Linked DNA regions of Homo sapiens: region 2 is linked to region 1. The links are contacts of gene promoters, found by promoter capture Hi-C in blood cells and fetal thymus (Javierre and others, 2016). All regions are on one chromosome and are shown on one strand. The core of a region is centred on a gene start or on the middle of the fragment in contact, and the rest is flanking DNA. Distances in the headings are between cores, read along the strand shown. Region 1 holds the start of MCM3 (minichromosome maintenance complex component 3). Region 2 overlaps MMUT (methylmalonyl-CoA mutase).

Region 1 (3,324 bases), core at 566-3,065:
AGCAGACATTCTTAGATCATTAAAAACAATGAGAAAATCCAGCTTCTGCTTTCTCCTATAAGTCTCAGTAAAACACCATCCTATAAGACTCAGTAAAATACCAGAACTAAGGACCAACTTCACCTCAACTTATCAAAGATATAAAAATGATATTCAGCTAAACATTGGAAGGAGGGGCATTTGGGAGGAAAATGCCAACCACCCACTTTTTGAAAAAAAAAAAAAAAAAAATAGGTGCAGGTGAGCTACGAGGGCTTGTAGATCAATCCTGTTTCATACAAGTCCTCTCCTGAGAGGCTGTTCCAATCTGGCCAAGAGGGAAGGGAGCCATTCTCACTGACAGCCAGTATATCCCCTTGCCTCTCACCGGTTAGCCCTCTTCTCGTTTTTCCTGCGCAGGTCATTCACATTGACAATCAGCCGGTATTGGTTGTCACTGATCAGCTCCCGAACTTTGCTCTGATAAATTCCCTGGTCTTCCTGCAAAACAGCCACCACATATCACCATAGCCACAAATTTAAAAACAATGTTTCTAAACAGAAGTAGTTCTCATAGCCAGATAGCTAAGTCAATCTCTGCAGCAGAGCTGAATCCCCAGTAAGTATGTGCTCATCAATTTCTCCCTTTCATTCACTGTTTTTAGATTCGAAATAACACCCTAAGAGGGGACTATAAGAATTATAATGACTTCCTCAAGGTCCATGCTGTTATTCCCATCATCATGGACAACTTTTCTGCATGCTGTAATTTCTGTCTTTAGTGGAGAATTAAAATGAGCTCATGAGAAGTCTAAATGGACAGTAAGTGCAAACTTTGTTAAAATGTTAAGTTAAACCTAGCAATGTGAATGTTAAAGGTAACAACGTGAATAGATGGATATGTTGTTTCACTGTAGTAATCATTTCACCATGTATATCAAAACATGTGCACTTCAAATATATACAATAAAAATGTAAATAAAACAGACTCTTAATAGTCACATTAAAATGGCTTTTCATTTAAGAATTATGTAAAAAGTAATATTTTTTCCAATCATCTCTATAATACGGAAAGGGTTCTCATACCCCGACCTAAAGGAATAGAGAATCTCAGCTATTTGGTCACATCATCAACCCTTCAAGATGGTTTTTTCAACATTCTATGGCTTTAAGTCTTGGGTTGCACATAAAATCCCCTTGGCCTGCACACAAAACACTTTTTATCTGCATCTTAGTTGGTATTGAAAAAGAATGCAGCCGAATTATGGAGTCTTTTCCTCCAGGTAAAACGTCAGTCCCTAAAATCTGAGCACTCTGCAACGCGGCTGGTCACTATAGCCCTAGGGCAGCCCCTCCCCCACAGTCTCCTCAAATCAAGAGAGAGCAGTGAAATGCAAAAGGCCGAGGTGGGCTTTGCCAATCTGCTTGCACTTAATGGGAACCTGTCGCCTTTTGCGCGCCCGGACCATCGCTTGTACTTAAGAGAAAGCTGGCTTCCTAAGAGTTCACTTATCGAACACAAACTAGCGAGTCCGGCGTTGAGAAGTTACAAGATTGGGGCTGGAGGCTCGGGCCCGGCAGGCTCCGCTGCGGCACACGGTCTGGAGGTCTGGCGGGCCTCTGGCTTCCCGGCCGGGCCGCGTCCGCAGGGGCTCCGAGCGCTAGAGCCCGCGCGCCGGCGCCTCCCTCACCTCGTCGTCCAGGAAGTCCAGGTAATCTCTCTGAGCCTCCCGCAGCTCCACATCGTCCAGCACCACGGTACCCGCCATGCCCGCTGCCAAAGAACTACCTCCACCAAAGTCGCGTGGAGGTTCCCAGGATGACTCCACCCCGGCGCGAAAACTTCCGAACTCTTCCCGCCACCAAAGGTTACCTCGAGGAAGAGGCGGGGACCTTGGGAGCATATAAGCATTATGATTGGCTGAGTTCTCTGAGGTCGGACTAGCGACTGTCCAATCAAAAGCTTCTTCTTCTTCGGGTTTTCCGCTGCGCGCCCCGCGGTGGCGGGAAACGTACCATCCGGGATTCTCTGTTCCTCCCCTCCCTCCGCCTCACTCACTGACGAGCAAACTGACCAATAGGGCTGAGAGGAGGCTCACAGAGGCTGGTCATTGAGCAGCTGGAGGGGACAGGCTGGCGAGAGGGAAAGCATTGCGTTCTGGGAGTTGTAGTGTTCTCCCTCCTTTCCGGATGTTTTTGCAGGGTTTTTCAAGCTGCAGAACTTTTGACCCGATGCAACGACCAAATTCAGAGGATGGTGCTTTATAACGCAGGGAGATGAAAACATAAAAGCAAATCATTTTTAAGATATATCCAAATCAGAACTGCCCTCCAGTGGCATCCTAGTGTAAAAGTGGATTTTGAGAATCTATAGGATAGAATATAGAACTACAGTACCTTAGGGAAAGATTAGTTAAAAACCCATTTGCTATCTGATACCGTTGCCTGACGAACTCCATAAAGACATCGCCGCAGAGAAGGATGAAGTGAAAAAAAAAATCTGTGTTTACCCTGCCCCCTAGAGACTTCATCGTGTGTTATACAAATTTTGGAAACCGTTACTACTCCATCTTACTTAATAACAGGTAAATTAAAGGCTTTCTGGTCTTATAAAAAGATCACAAGATCCTTTTAAGTAACTTAGCTTACTGAACGATCAGCTCAAGAGGGGAAAAAGTGTTTCACGTCACTTTGATTAAATATCAATCAGTAACTAACAGCAAATCTGAAACCATAATGACTAAAAGATCATCGCACGTCCAAATTTGTATGTTTGTTTTCAGTCCGTCGTGGTTGGCTTTTTCTTATATTTCTAGTTTTATTTTGAGATATAATGTATATACAGTAAAATGCACAAATCTTAAGTGTACAGCTCAGTGAATTTTTACCTGTGCTTACACCCATGTAACCACTCTGCACAATAAAGAGCAAGCCCATTGCCCCAGCATGTGTTTTTAATTTTACTGAACAAGAAGCTGAAATACTGGATTGCCCAACATCAGACATTTGATAATTCTTTATCTGAAATTTCAGCCAACTATTAGCTTATGTTTTAAAGTCTTCAGGACTCACTATGTACTGATAAATATTCTAAGAATAATCTGCCTAAACAAAATATATAGGCCATCTATTTGTGTGGGTATATGTATTTCTAGTTATTATTCAGTTTATAGTTACTGTATGTTTTGTGCCATCCTAGTGGGCAGATAAATCGATCCTTAGCCAAAGCAAAAAGGCTGTCATTTGACTGCTTGCTTTTATGTTTATTAACGGGCAAAAAAAAAAGAAAATTCTAGAATAAAGATACTGTTTGCCGTTATATAGCAAGAGGTAATTACTGATTTA
Region 2 (3,233 bases), core at 4-2,503, 2.8 Mb before region 1:
TTCCTGCACCTGATATTTTATAACTTTGGCCCCTCTTCTTCACAATTACTATCAGTCCTGTAGTTTCAGTCTTTTTCCTCAGTAGCCTCTTAGCTGGTCTTACTGACCAGTCTTACTCCTTTTCTACTCCATTCTATACGAATCCCTTCCATACAATGACATCAATGTAAATATGACTATGTCACACTCCTCATGGAATTTTTCAAAGACTCTGTATCATGTGGAAGATATACTACAGCCTCCTAATTAATTTTTTCATTCAAAGTGCTTTTATTAAATATCAGTTTATGACCGACATTATGTTGGGTAATAGAGAAAAAAGTGATGAATAAGACAAACAGGCATTCAAGGCCTTCATGAACTGGTCTCTGTTTCCCCCTCAGACCCATCTCTGTCTTTGTCCTCTTTATGCATTTTGTGCACTAGAAATACTGGATTACCTACAGTTGGCTGCACATATGTCAAAGTTTTCTGAATTTGCTCTTGCTCTTCCTTCTGCCTAAAATGTTCTTCTCTGGCTAATTCAGCTAAGGCATTATCTCCAATTTGCAGCGTTTCTATGTGCCAGTAACATAGAAGGCTATAAAGACATCACAGAGAGTAGCAATTTTAATCTTTACAATACCCCTAAGAGGTAGGTACTATTATTATCCTTATTTTACAGATTAGGAAACTGAGGCACAGAAGAGCCAGCATTGATTGGAACCTATGCAGCCTGTTTCAAAGTCCTTGCATTTAACTAATATGCACACAATTCATCCCAGAACCCATAAGGTGAGCTAAATGGCCTCTTCAATAATCTACTTCTGTGCTAGTTTATAAACTGCTCCAACATTAGAGCTGCATATTCCGGATAACTAGCATAGACTTTTATACTAGGTTGCTGGGTTCAGCGTCATCATTTTCCAGATGTAGAAACTGAGGCTCAGAGAAATAAAGTCGCTTGATCAAAATCCCACCTCACAAAGCCGTAAACTGTTTACCTGAATTACTAAAACTTGTCAGAGTCATACAGCGTAAACATATAGAGCCCATTGTTTAAAAAGATATTGAGATGCAAACATTAATATATTCACTATACTATGTGTTTTATACTGGATAAGGCAACAAGTAAAGGGAGTTTCAAATTTTATTTTCCATACCACTTCTTACCTATCAGTTTAGTAAAGCTTAAATGAAATCAATACTCAACACTTATTATGGGGTCGTTAAACAAGAGACATAAACCACTGGTGACAGTATTAACTATTTTAACTACTTTGGAAAGTAAATTGTCAATATACATGAAATGCTTCAGAAATGTTTATGCCATTCCACTGAGGAACATTACTCCTGGGAAAGCTTCTGTAGTAATATATAAAATAGATGTTTCCTATAGTTTTATTTGTAATAGAGAAAACTTAGGAAAATCGTAAGTATCTCATAACATATGAATAAGTGAATTACAGCATATACAAATGATAGAATTTCATGTAGTTATCAAAATATGTTTAGAAAGCTGGCAAAACTAATCTTTGATGTCAGAAGTCAGAAGAATGGTTACTTAATGGTTGCTAGAATACAACAGGAGCAAGAGAGGGGCTTTTGGGGGTAATGGTCTTGATCTGATTGCCACTTACATAGATATATTCTGTTTGTGGAAATTCATCAAATTATACAGTTATGTTTTATGCAGTTTCTGTAAATATATGTATAAGTAAAAAGTTAAAAATGTGTTATGCATAGTTTCCCAAAAAAAGAGAAACAAACTCAAAAAGTAGTAAGTAAAAGACTCAAGACACGTAATTGTAAGTGCAACAGGTTCAACTATGTAAAAAGTACATAGAACAAAGTCTAAATGGAAACATAACAAAAAAGGCTGGGCATGGTGGTTCACGCCTGGAATCCCAGCACTTCAGGAGGCCGAGGCAGGTGGATCACCTGAGGTCAGGGGTTCAAGACCAGCCTGGCCAACACGGTGAAACCCAGTCTCTACTAAAAATACAAAAATTAGCTGGGCATGGTGGCGCACACCAGTAATCCCAGGTACTCAGGAGGCTGAGGCATGAGAATCACTTCAACCCGGGAAGCAGAGGTTGCAGTGAGCAGAGATCGTGCCACTGCACTCCAACCTGGGCAACAGAGAGAGACCCCGTCTCAAAACAAAACAAAAAAACCTTCCATTTTTTTAATACTAGCACGATTTTTATTCTTTAAATCCATGGGGTCCTTGTCATCCATCTTTTTGCAAGCCATCCACTACATTTACTAGCTTAAAAGGTGGATGAAAAAAATAATGAAGCAACAACTAAACTGTTTCAATAGTAATCCTGTAAAAGGTAATTTGAAAACCACCTGAGACTAAACTGTTGGCAGGAAATATCACACTCATTTCACGTGGGCTTTCCTAAATCTGAACAACTAATAGGAAAGAGCCCCGTTTAAGTGACTTCCTGAAAATCACATGTGAATTGGTGGAGGCTGGAAACAGACACCATTTTTAGATAAAAACACAACTACTGCGGATGGCAATACGACCTCTGAATTTTCTCAGAAGACCATCAAGAGAGGCCTCAAGCATTCAAAGAAGCAACATGCAAAGCAAATATGTTACTGACAACTAAAATGAGTTAAAGAGCAATGATTAATCCCACCCCCACACCTCAAAAACAAATCAGTGAGAAAAAGATTTCTTGAACCAATAAGTTTCAAGCTTTGGCTGCTGACGTATGATTGCACATTAATACTTCAAGAAGGTACTTTGATGTTCAACTAGTTGGGTTTGGAGATGGAAACATAGGGCATGAAAATTATATTTGATATTAGCATAAGTACATCATTAAACACAAAATTATATTGGCAGAAAATCATCAAGTGGTTTAAAACTTTACACACATACGTTATCCAGGGCTTCGAGCTTCCCTAAGACCACCTTCTTTCTAGATAAAACTGAGAACGAGTTAGTAATGTAAGCTTTTATGTCAATTTAGACCTGTCTTTTCTATTCTACCTCTCACTCTTAACACTGTTTACACTCTTAATCCTGTTTACACACAGAAAATCACTTTTATTCCCGAAAACTCTTAGAAAAACCCTGACAATAACATAACCCACAACCTAGAAGGGAGGCAGCCATGAAGCAGGCGCATCCCTTTGGAACCATACAAAAAGTGACCTCTGCCAACGGGAACAGTTCAGGGTGCTTAAGTGGCCAAAGAAGATACCGACATGGCCCCTAAAGTATTAAAAGCACC

Evidence for each region. The method cuts DNA at HindIII sites, captures the fragments that hold promoters and counts their contacts. A CHiCAGO score of 5 or more calls a contact.
Region 2: a fragment that was not itself captured here is called in contact with the fragment with the promoter of MCM3 in region 1 in 1 of 17 cell types (total B cells); the score reaches 5.7 in total B cells.

The regions. Positions count from the first base shown.
Region 1 is chr6:52,282,927-52,286,250 of GRCh38, forward strand. MCM3 (minichromosome maintenance complex component 3) reads right to left here and starts at 1,816. Exons shown (of 17, transcript NM_002388.6): 1 at 1,671-1,816; 2 at 368-480. The coding sequence starts at 1,748. RefSeq lists enhancers at 1,694-1,773, 2,094-2,293. The HindIII fragment of the contact is 4,216 bases long and covers 1-1,940 here.
Region 2 is chr6:49,459,631-49,462,863 of GRCh38, forward strand. All of the region lies in intron 1 of MMUT (methylmalonyl-CoA mutase), which reads right to left. Among named protein-coding and RNA genes, the nearest start is that of MMUT, 2.0 kb to the right of the region's middle. RefSeq lists an enhancer at 2,806-3,233. The HindIII fragment of the contact is 172 bases long and covers 1,168-1,339 here.